Linked DNA regions of Homo sapiens: region 2 is linked to region 1. The links are contacts of gene promoters, found by promoter capture Hi-C in human tissues and cell types (Jung and others, 2019). All regions are on one chromosome and are shown on one strand. The core of a region is centred on a gene start or on the middle of the fragment in contact, and the rest is flanking DNA. Distances in the headings are between cores, read along the strand shown.

Region 1 (6,458 bases), core at 360-2,859:
CAATTGAACTGCCTCCTCTTGTCAGGCAGGGACAACTGGGAGGTGAGCAGTTGGGCCCGGGAATGTGGGAGCCAAGGGCATAGATGTGAGGACCTCCCTATGGAGAGGAAAAGGAGGCAGCTGGAATGCAGACTTGGGACTATCTGTTTACCTGCCTGGTCACTTAATTTCTCTGAGAGGCATTAACAGTTAAAATCCTGAGAGGGTTATTGCCAACAGCATGGATGGGGTTGCTTTCTAGGAGCAGGGAATAAAGGTGGTGGTACCCAGAGGGATTCTTTCTCAGCCAGGGTCTCCTTCCCTGTGGGTTTGTCCCTGTGCCCCTGACTACTTTTCTTTTTTTTTTTTTTTTTTTTTTTTTTTAAACTTCTTTTTGTGGAGATGGGGTCTCCTTATGTTGCCCAGTCTGGTCGCTAAGTCCTGGGCTCAAGCAATCCTCCTGCCTTGGTCTCCCAAAGTGCTGAGATTACAGGTGGGAGCCACCGTGCCCGGCCCCCCTGACTCCTAAGCTTTCTTCCCACTCACCAGGATGAGCCCCAAGAGCCTCAAGAACCCAACAAGGTGCCCCTAGAAGACACAGAGACAGATGAACTTTGGGCATCCTTGGAGGCAGCTGCCAAGCGGAAGCTCTCGGGTTTGGAGCAGCCCCAAGGAGCTCTCCAAACGAGACGGAGAAAGAAGAAGCGGCCTGGGTCCACCAGCCCCTGACGCCCCTGTGCCCACTTTGTAAATAAACTGCTGAACACCCACCATGACCCTGAGCCTTTTGTGATGGGAGAAAGGAATGAGGGGTAGCTTGGGGTGGGGGCTGCCTGAGCTGGGGCGACGGGATATCTGATGTCACAAAAGCCGGGCCTGGAGGCAGGCAGGCTGGCGTGGGTGGCACGGAGTCCAGGGCCACGCGGGGCCATGGGCTGCTGCCAAGACAAGGACTTTGAGATGTCTGATGAGCAGTCCAAGGAGGAAGAGTCTGAGGACGGCAGGGAAGATGAGACCACAGACACACAAAGAGGGCCCAGGGAGTGTGAGAGGGGGCTTCCCGAGGGTAGGGGTGAGCTCAGAGGCCTCGTCGTCCCCTCAGGCGCCGAAGATATCGACTTGAACTCCCCGGACCATCCGAATCACAAGTCGAACGAAAGCCTTCTGATTACCGTGCTGTGGCGGCGACTATCCACGTTCGGTCGTCGGGGCTCCTCGCGGCCAAGCAAGAGGCAACCAGACCAGATTCGGAAGCAGGAGAGTCCGATCCGAGAAGGCAACCAGGAGGAGCCGGAGAAGGGATGACCCCAGACCTGCTCTCAGTCCGCCCCAACCTCCAGAGAATAAAATTTCTAACGTATACCTGCACGACCACTCTGGGGGACTGGGCGCGGACACCACCGGGCAGCTGGTTCTTTAAGGCTCCTTCCCGGAGGCGGGCCCAGCCCCCTGAGCGCCTGCTGTAGTACTCTGGGGCGGGGTCACGGTGGCGCCTTAGCCAATGGGAGGGCGGGATCGCTCTTGCGTTTGGGTGTGGGGCGTGTCTTTCGGGTCGCTGGGCTTGAAACGCGTGGGACCGCCCCCTCGTCACTGGGGGTGGGGTTACGTGTAGGTGACGTGGCCGCTTCCAGTCTTTGGTCGGGTTTCGGCGGCTTCAGTGCTCGGGGAGGAGGCAGTGACGGCCGGTGAGATTGGAAGTGGCGGCGGCGGCAGGCGGCAGAGGGGAGGTAAGATTCGCTTTAAGAGGGGATCTGGCCGCCGTGTCAGCTCTGGGGCAGTGGTTTTACGGGGGCGACGACTGGCGGGGGGAAGGGAATCAGGGGCGAGCGGGCAAGTCCTGCCGGCCCGGCTCCGGGTGAGCGAATTCCTTGCCGTCCAATCAGGAAAGCCTCTGTTGAGAGAGACGTCGGCCTTAGCTAATGAGTGGTTGAAGTCTTCCAGAAGGCGGACCTTGGGCGGGGGGTGGGACTTCCTGTTTCAAATAAACACCCAGAGGTTTTCCCCCTCCGCCCACCGAAGTGTGTCAGTCTTTGGAGGTCCGTCACTGGCCCTCCCGGAGGGGCCGAAGGAAACCGCGGAAACGAAAGGGCTGGGTTAGGGCCCGGGGCAGTTACACGGGCCGGGCCGGAGTCTCAGGACCACGGGGTTGGCTCTGGCCCTGTCTCTGCTTCAGGGTCCCCGGCCCGCGCTCTGGCCGCCAGAGCCAAGTTGGAAGAAGAGTCTGAAGCGGGTTCGACTTGGGACAGGGGAAAAGCGGGGCCCTTTCCGCTGCTGGTCCGCCCCAGGATTTGCGAGCGTCCTGGGCGCGAAAGTCCACGAGAAGTGCAGAAGGGGCTCGGGGATTTGTTGATTGGGGTGGGGCGGGGGAGTTTGGGTAAAGAAGTTGCCTGGGGAATGACACTCTCCCCTCCACAACAGTCCGAGGTTATGCGTCTCAATGATCCCGCGGAAACGCTACGGGTCTAAGAACACGGATCAGGGTGTCTACCTGGGTCTCTCAAAGACACAGGTCCTGTCCCCTGCAACTGCTGGCAGTAGCAGCAGCGACATCGCCCCTCTGCCCCCCCCAGTGACCCTCGTCCCTCCCCCTCCCGACACCATGTCCTGCCGGGATCGGACCCAGGAGTTTCTGTCTGCCTGCAAGTCGCTGCAGACCCGTCAGGTAAGGACCTGGAGTGGAAAAGGCGAGGAGTGAGCCTTACTCAAATCTAGGAAGGACTGTGCTCCACCACTGTTAACCGAAGTAATTTTGGGGGGTACCTGATGGAACTGATAGGCTTGGATGGGGCCTGTAGGGTCTGCTATAAGCAACAGAGAAGAGGTCGGCTGGCTAACTAGGGGCAAGGACTTAGACTTTTTTTTGTGAGGAATCCTTTGGAGGGCAGGATTGCTATTCTGGAGGGAGTACTTCAGAGAGTACTTGGCTGCAATATAATTGGTGTGAATAAGGAACAAGTTCTAGGAAGAGCCTTTAGCTGAGAAACATGCACCTTGAATTTTCCAATATACTTCTACCATAAGTTTGCTCTGTAACCATGAGAAAATTAGTTAATCTAGTTACATATTAGTTTTTATCTCTGTAAGATTAAGGACATTTTCTAGATAAGTAATTTGTTGTTTTTGTTTTGTTTTGAGATCTGTTTTTCAACTCTGTCAACAGGCTGGAGTGTAGTGGTGTGATGATAGCTCACTTGCAGTCTTGAACTCCTAGACTCAAGGGATCCTCTTTCCTCAGCCTCCTGAGCAGCTGGGACTACATGGATGCACCACTCAGCTAATTTTAAAATTTTTTCGTACAGGCAGTGTCTCACTATGTTGCCCAGGTTGGTCTGGACACCACACCTGGCCCTAGATCAGTAATTTGTATCAAAATCACTTAGGGTTGGATGTGGTGGCTCATACCTGTAATTCCAGCACTTTGGGAGGCCTAGGCCAGAGGATGACTTGAGGCCAGGAGTTAGAGACCAGCAGGAGCAACAAAGCAAGACCCTGTTTCTACAGGAAAAAAAAAAAAAAAAGCTGGACGTGGTGGCATGTGCCTGTAGTCCCAGCTACTTAGAAGGCTGAGCGAGGCCCAGTCTCTTCCTCTCTCTCTTTTTTTTTTTTTTTTTTTTTTGAGAAGGAATTTTGCCTTGTCGCCCAGACTGGGGTGCAATGGTGCAATCTCGGCTCACTGCAACCTCCTCTTCCTGGGTTCAAGCGATTCTCCTGCCTTAGCCTCTCGAGTAGCTGGGATTACAGGTGCCCGTCACCACGCCCGGCTAATTTTTGTATTTTTTTTTAGTAGAGATGGGGTTTCACCATGTCAGGCTGGCTTTGAACTCCTGACCTGAGGTGATCTGCCCTCCTCAGCCTCCCAAAGTGCTGGGATTACAGGTATGAGTCACCACACCTGGCCTCTCTCTCTCCTTTTTTGGAAACATGGTCTCACTCTGTCACCAAGGCTGGAGTACAATGGTTCTATCTCATCTCACTGCAACATCTGACCTCCTGGGCTCAAGCAACCCTCCTGCCTCAGGCTCCTCAGTAGCTGGGATTATAGGCATGTGCCACCACATCTGGCTAATTTCTGTTTTGTTAGTAGAGATGGGGTTTTACCATGTTGCCCAGGCTGGTCTCGAACTTCTGGGCTCAAGTGATCCGTCTGCTTTATCTTCTCAAAGTGCTGGGATTACAGGTGTCAGCCACTGCACTCAGCTCCTCTTAAAAAAAATTTGGGAGTGCTATTTATTTATTTATTTATTTATTTATTTTTGAGATGGGAATTTCGCTCTTGTTGCCCAGGCTGTAGTGCAGTGGCACGATCTTAGCTCACTGCAACCTCCGCCTCCCGGGTTCCAGTGATTCTCCTGCCTCAGCCTCCCAAGTAGCTGGGATTACAGACATGCGCCACCATGCCTGGCTAATTTTGTATTTTGAGTGGAGACGGGGTTTCTCCATATTGGTCAGGCTGGTCTCAAACTCCCGACCTCAGGTGCTCTGCCCGCCTCAGCCTTCCAAAGTGCTGGGATTGCAAGCGTGAGCCACCGTACCCAGCCGGGAGTGTTTTTTTCAACAATCCCAGTGGGACCCGAGTAAGCAGTTTGTGTTTGTTTGTTTGTTTGTTTGTTTGTTTGTTTTTGAGACAGTCTCTCTTTGTTGCCAGGCTGGAGTGCAGTGACGTGATCTGGGTTCACTGCAGCCTCCACCTCTGGGTTTAAGTGATTCTCCTGCCTCAGCCTCCCAAGTAGCTGGGAATACAGGCGGTGCCAGGACACCCAGCTAATTTTTGTATTTTTAGTAGAGACGGGGTTTCACTGTGTTCGCCAGGATGGTCTCTGTCTCTTGACCTCGTGATCTGCTTGCCTCGGCCTCCCAAAATGCTGGGATTACAGGTGTGAGCCACTGCACCTGGCCAAGTAACTGTATTTATTTATTTGTTTGTTTGTTTGTTTATTTATTTATTTATTTATTTTGAGACGGAGTCTCGCTCTGTCACCCAGGCTGGAGTGCAGTGGTGGGATCTTGGCTCACGGCAGCCTCCACCTCCCAGGTTCAAGTGATTCTCCGGCCTCAGCCTGCTGAGTAGCTGGGACTACAGGTGCATGCCACCACACCTGGCTAAATTTTTGTATTTTTAGTAGAGATGGGGTTTCACCATGTTAGCCAGGTTGGTCTCAATCTCTTGACCTCGTGATCCGCCTGCCTCAGCTTTCCAAAGTGCTGGGATTACAGGCGTGAGCCACTGCACCCGGCCGAGTAACTGTATTTTTAAATATTTTTACTGATGGCTGGACATGCTGGCTGGCACCTGTAATCCCAGCACTTTGGGAGGCTGAGGTGGGAGGATTGCGTGAGCCTAGGAGTTCAAGACCAGCCTGGGCAATATAGCAAGACCCTATCTCTACAAAAAGTTAAAAATTAGCTAGGTGTGGTGGTGTGCCCTGTAGTCCCAGCTACTTGGGAGGCTGAAGTTGGAGGATCACTTGAGCCCAGGATGTCGAGGCCGCAGTAAGTTATGATCATGCTACTATATTCCAACCTGGGAGACAGAGTGAGACCCTGTCTCAAAAACAGAAAAGTTATAAAGAAGTGTTTTTCAGCTCATGGTAAAGCTGCTCTTCTGTATGATCTCCAAGAGCTTTGCAATCATCCTTATTGATTTCCTGATTTGAGGAATAGAATGGCAATACTAGATACCATTTATTTAGTGCTTACTATGTACCAGGTAGTTGACTGAAGTACTTTTCAGCCTTTTTGTTATTTAACCTTAGCAACAATAGGAGATGTGTGGATTGTCTTCATTTTATAGAAGAGAAAGTAGAGATTTAGAATGTTTTAAGTAACTCGCCCCAAATCCACCAGCTAGTAGTAAGTGGTGAGTCAAGATTTGAACTCAGGTCTACCTGCTCTTCAAATCTGGACTCTAAACGACTACCACTCATAAATCTAGATCATCTGATGGATGCCACCAGCACTAGAGATAGGTTAGTGGACACCTCAGGAAGAGTGAAAGCTGGAACTGGGGAAGGGAGAACTAAAGTTGTCACCTCCTGCCATTGCTTTTCAGAATGGAATCCAGACAAATAAGCCAGCTTTGCGTGCTGTCCGACAACGCAGTGAATTCACCCTCATGGCCAAGTGAGTTGAGAGAAGCTTTCTGGTGGGGTGATACAGTGTCTGAAGAAAAGTAGACTTGCAATCAGTGGCCTTGGCTGTGAAGTCTGGGATTGGTTATGCTGGAGCTTATGTGGGAAAAGGCGTCCTGCCCTTTCCCACAGTCTGACTAGTGGTCATTTGCAGGCGCATTGGGAAAGACCTTAGCAACACATTTGCCAAGCTGGAGAAGCTGACAATCTGTGAGTGTTCTTGGGGTCTTTCAGAAGTGGGGCAGTAAATCAAAGAGGGTTGAGGACTATATTCCCTGAGCTTTGTCCTTGACCTCACCCATTGTGGCTTCTTGTTTGTCTCTGTAGTGGCAAAGCGCAAGTCCCTCTTTG
Region 2 (4,360 bases), core at 1,782-4,281, 1.1 Mb before region 1:
CACAGAAGGAAGGGTGTGACTACTGAGGACAGTGGTGAGAAGGAAGTCTCGTGGAAGTGGAAGGAGATGGTTTGGGAAGGGAGGGAGGGAGGCAAGGAAGGACCCCTGTGTGGAGTGTGGTTTAGGCTGGAGACAGCGGGCTCCCTGGGAGCCGGGCAGACTGGACCCTCAAGGCGGCAATGGGGACCAACCCTTGAGGATTGAGTCCCTGTGATGCCGACTATCCCCGGGGTCCCTAAGGAAACCCTGGAAGGTTCAGAACAAAAAGGTTTCCCTTTGGAGCCTTAGGACAGCTTCCTGCATACCTGTTCTGAGAGGGAGAACTGGAAAAGAGGGGCATTAATGCTCTTTTTTGTTCCCTCCACTTCCTGGCCGCAGGGGACAGACCCATTTCTTGTGGCTAAGATGACAAGAACACAGCAGGACCCCCAAGTGGGAAGAAGAAATTGTTGGGGCAAGGGGGTAGGGTGGGCTGAGGGCAGCAGGTGCACCAGCTGCCCCAGCACACTTGCCTGGGCCGCGGCACCTCACAGTTACTCTCCGTGGGGGGCAGCCCAGAGGCCTTGTTGGGGTGCACGGAGGCCGACATGGATTTCTGGTGCTGGCGGGGCCGGGCCGCAGAGACTGCGGCAGAAGCAGAAGCCGTGGAGGCCCGGGACCCTGGCATGGTTAGGCTAGGAAACAAAAGCAGCGGAGAGGCCCGTGTTAGGGGTGAGTGAGGGCGGGAGGCCTGGATTAGGAAGCAAGGGCAGGGGAAGGGCCAGAGCTGGGGAGCTCTGGCAGGGTAGAAGTCAGGCCTGGGCAGCAGCGGGATGCAAGTCAGAACTGAGGAATGCGGGGCTGAGAAGTGGAGGTGAGTGAGGTCGGGAAGCAGCGAGGTGGGTCAGTGCCTGGGAAGAGGAATCAGAAATGAAGGAGAGCAGACAAGGGGCCGCTGCCTCCAGGCTGCACTGGCCTCCTAAGAATTTTAAGAACAGGAGAGTTTCTTCTACAGAAAGAGTGGGGTGTTGCTGAGGGGAAACTTTCATAAACTCAGAAGAGATAGAGCCAGGAATGCAACACCAAGAAATGCGGCCGGTGAAGGCTGGGGAGCTCTGGTCTCATGGGGATGGCTGGAGTCGCCCTCTATGTGTACACCCCTCAAGGTGGGCATCTCTTGGTTCTGCCCTGAGCTGGGACCCCCAACACAAGGCCTTAGCTGCTCATGTCTAGAGGAGGGCAGCTGCCATGCCCTGGCCGTGGTCAAGAAGCGAGCATGTAGCTGAGATGGCCACGGTCAGCCCCACACTTGGCAAACTGCAAGTAGCAGTCAGAGGAAGATGGGGAGGAGGCAATGGCGTGGAATAGGGGAGGGGAAAGCTGGACTGGACACAGCCAGGATGGAACTCCAGGGAGCAGGGAGCAATGCGCTGGCAGGGACAGGAGACGGTGCTGCTGACAGACATCACCCTGTGAGACATGGCTCCTAGGGAGTGAGGCAGGCAGGGCCCGGGTCTCTCACCTGTCTTTGCCATTCTGGATGGAGGCCTGGCCGAGGCTGGCCCGCTCCAAAAGTGGGGAATTCCTGCTTCGATTTGTGCTGGTGGAGAGGACGCTGTTCTGTGGGGAATAAAGGGCAAGCGTTCTATCAGAAAGCCAAAGTGGTCTACAGCCAGGTTCTCCCCCCAGGTTCATGGAACAGGCTTCCTGTCCCTTCCACCTGAAGCAGACAGTGGTAGGTTAAGGAAAGGATTCTGCATTTACTGCTGGGAGCGAGGCTTCCTGCTATAAGCAGAAGTAGTAGCCAAAGGGAACAGAGTCTGAATTAAGAGAAGAGCTGCCTGGAGAGGGCAGGCCCCACCGCAGGAAGGAAGGAGAGAGCGGGGGGTGCGGCTCACCGTGGAGGGGGTTGGGGTGGTCTTCTTCCTCTCCAGACCGGGCAGGGGGCTGGCAGGCACCTTGGCTGTGCTGCTGGCTTTCCGCCCTGACTCCCGGTCCTCCTCAGGCCGCTTATTTTCTGCGTTGTTACTCTGAGTCTTCTTAGAGTAAGAATTAGAGGTGGGAATGGCAGGACCAGCTGCTGGGCCAGAGGGAGGATGGGAATGGGTAAGGCCAAGGGGTCCACTGAGTGCCAGCCCCACGCATGCTCATTTCCTACAGGGCTGGCCAACAACCCAGCAAGCCCCCATTCCACAGAGGCGAGGGAAGGGAAGTGGCTTGCCCATAGCCACACTACTAATAAGTGGCTGAACCAGGACTGAAACTTAGTTGTGTTACCCAAGTCCCCACAGAACCTGTAACCTCTCTGGAGAGGGGTGAGTCCCCACCTACAACTCCCAAAAGCATTTACCCTGGTCGCTGAAGCGCCGCTGCTTGGGATTGGCCGACACGCTGCGCTGTACCTTGTGGGATGGGGATGGGGCGCTGCTATTGGTCAGATCAGCTGAAGGCCGGGGTTTCAGGGTGATGGTGTCGCCTTCCAGCTGAAAGAAACAGAAAACAGCTTCAAGGGAGGGCAGAAGTCATGTGGAGATCCCTATGGATGGACACATTTACACATACCGCCCTCTCCCAACACTCAAACACCCCAGGATCATACCGGACATCCACTTGTAAGACCAATACATCCCCCCTGGAGGAGACCCTGGAGACACACATGCTCTGACACAGACACTGACAAACACAGTCTCAGAAAGGAATACATAAGCCCACACACCCAGAGACACAAACATCCGCAAGAACACATGTCCAGACTCAAGTCCACTCCCCTCAACACAGAGCAATATGGGCCTATACCAAGTGTCACCAGGTGCCTCTTAAGGATCCCACCACCAGAGGGAGAGCAGGGCAGGGAGGCTGGGAGTTCATGTGGGGATACTCAGATGATGAACAAAACCCAAATGGGCAGAAGAACAATCACAAAGTCTCCAGATCCACAGACGGGAAGACGGACACATACACACACACACACACACACACACACACACAGATACACACACCCAAACATAAAGCACTAGACAGAAGCAACAGACTCAATAGCCGGGTATGGTGGCACATGCCTGTAATCCCAGCTACTTGGGAGGCTGAGGCAGGAGAATCGCTTGAACCCGGGAGGCGGAGGTTGCAGTGAGCCAAGATCCTGCCATTGCACTCCAGCCTGGGCAACAAGAGCGAAATTCCGTCTCAAAAAAAAAAAAAAAAAAAAAAGCAACAGACTCAAACTTCCGATCAGACACACACAGAGACACACACACACACCCAGAAATGTACACTTCCAGATACAAAAAGAGACACAAAGATATCTAGATCAATGTAGTAGTGCTAGCCGATGACCTAGACACATCTAATCAATGCAGACTAACCTAGATCAACTCACCCGTATTGAAACTCTGACCCAGTCCCACACCGACCCTACCAGCTTTCTATTAATTCACTCATGGAGATCAGTGAATGGGCCAGAGGACCTTAGACACCAAAGCTGAGGCTTAAAATTGGTGAGCAGAGAGCACACCTACTCAGAGATGAGCTTCTGCCCTCAACAGGTGTTAGAAGCATAGGTGCTACAGACAGTGAGGCTGGCCAGGTCAGAGAATGGGGCGGGGAGCACACACCTCGGAGCTCTTGTAGCCCAGGAGCAGATAGGTGGCCATCACCTCGTTGTATCTCTGGCCCACCAGCGAGTCCTGGATCTCTTCCCGTGTATAACCCATGGACACCATCAGCTCTGCACAGGGGGACATACAGTTAAGACTGGCCTCAACTCCTAGGCAAGCTTAACCTCACAGCCCGGCACAGCCTCACCTGTCCGCCGGGGGTCCTTGTAGTCAGGGAGTGGCTCCACGTAAGGCTTTAGTTCATCATCTTCGTGACCCACATTCATCCATCGATCTTTCATGATTTGCTGGGGAGCACAGAGAAGGAAAAGGGCAGGGGGAAGAAACTCAGCTGGAAAGTTTCTGTGGGGACCCCAGGCCCTTCCGCCAGTTGGGCTCCACTGCTCACCTCTAAAGTGCCTCTCTTGCTGGGATTAAGAATGAGAAATTTCTTAAGCAGGTTTTCACAGTCCGTGGACATGTAGAATGGAATACGGTATTTTCCCCTCAGTACCCGTTCCCGCAGCTCCTGCAGGAGGATCCAGGGTTAGAAAATTGAAATCACCCCAAGGCCAAAGGAAGAAACCTAATATCCAAGATCCTGAGAGCTTAAGCCTGGCAAAGCAGACATAAATGAAATATGGAAGAAGGCAGACAGCCTGGGGACAAGACACCTCACCAGAGAGGCAAGTGAAGTCAAATACCCTCGTACCCTCTAACTTGACCAGTCCGAGGCCTGCAATCCGGAGTGCCTTGGGGGATGAACACACACACAGTTTATCCCATCT

Evidence for each region. Contacts are between HindIII fragments. The study calls those that stand out against the background at their distance.
Region 2: a fragment that was not itself captured here is called in contact with the fragment with the promoter of STX5 in region 1 in 1 of the 25 tissues and cell types used here (dorsolateral prefrontal cortex).

What each region holds. Positions count from the first base shown.
Region 1 is chr11:62,827,202-62,833,659 of GRCh38, reverse strand. STX5 (syntaxin 5) reads left to right here and starts at 1,609. Exons shown (of 11, transcript NM_003164.5): 1 at 1,609-1,706; 2 at 2,398-2,641; 3 at 6,029-6,099; 4 at 6,262-6,317; 5 at 6,435-6,458. The coding sequence starts at 2,417. It overlaps TEX54 (testis expressed 54), which reads left to right and starts at 819. Exons shown (of 1, transcript NM_001395459.1): 1 at 819-1,339. The coding sequence starts at 910. The coding sequence ends at 1,284. It overlaps WDR74 (WD repeat domain 74), which reads left to right. Exons shown (of 11, transcript NM_001369450.1): 10 at 1-42; 11 at 529-749. The coding sequence ends at 708. STX5-DT (STX5 divergent transcript) reads right to left here and starts at 1,426. Exons shown (of 2, transcript NR_135084.1): 1 at 1,343-1,426; 2 at 1-97. RefSeq lists enhancers at 1,099-1,148, 1,169-1,238, 1,609-1,698. The HindIII fragment of the contact is 7,048 bases long and covers 1-6,404 here.
Region 2 is chr11:63,900,300-63,904,659 of GRCh38, reverse strand. It overlaps MARK2 (microtubule affinity regulating kinase 2), which reads right to left. Exons shown (of 19, transcript NM_001039469.3): 9 at 3,982-4,101; 10 at 3,781-3,880; 11 at 3,591-3,703; 12 at 2,330-2,462; 13 at 1,878-2,059; 14 at 1,502-1,599; 15 at 513-674. Among named protein-coding and RNA genes, the nearest start is that of RCOR2, 15 kb to the left of the region's middle. RefSeq lists an enhancer at 1,034-1,846. The HindIII fragment of the contact is 6,882 bases long and covers 1-4,360 here.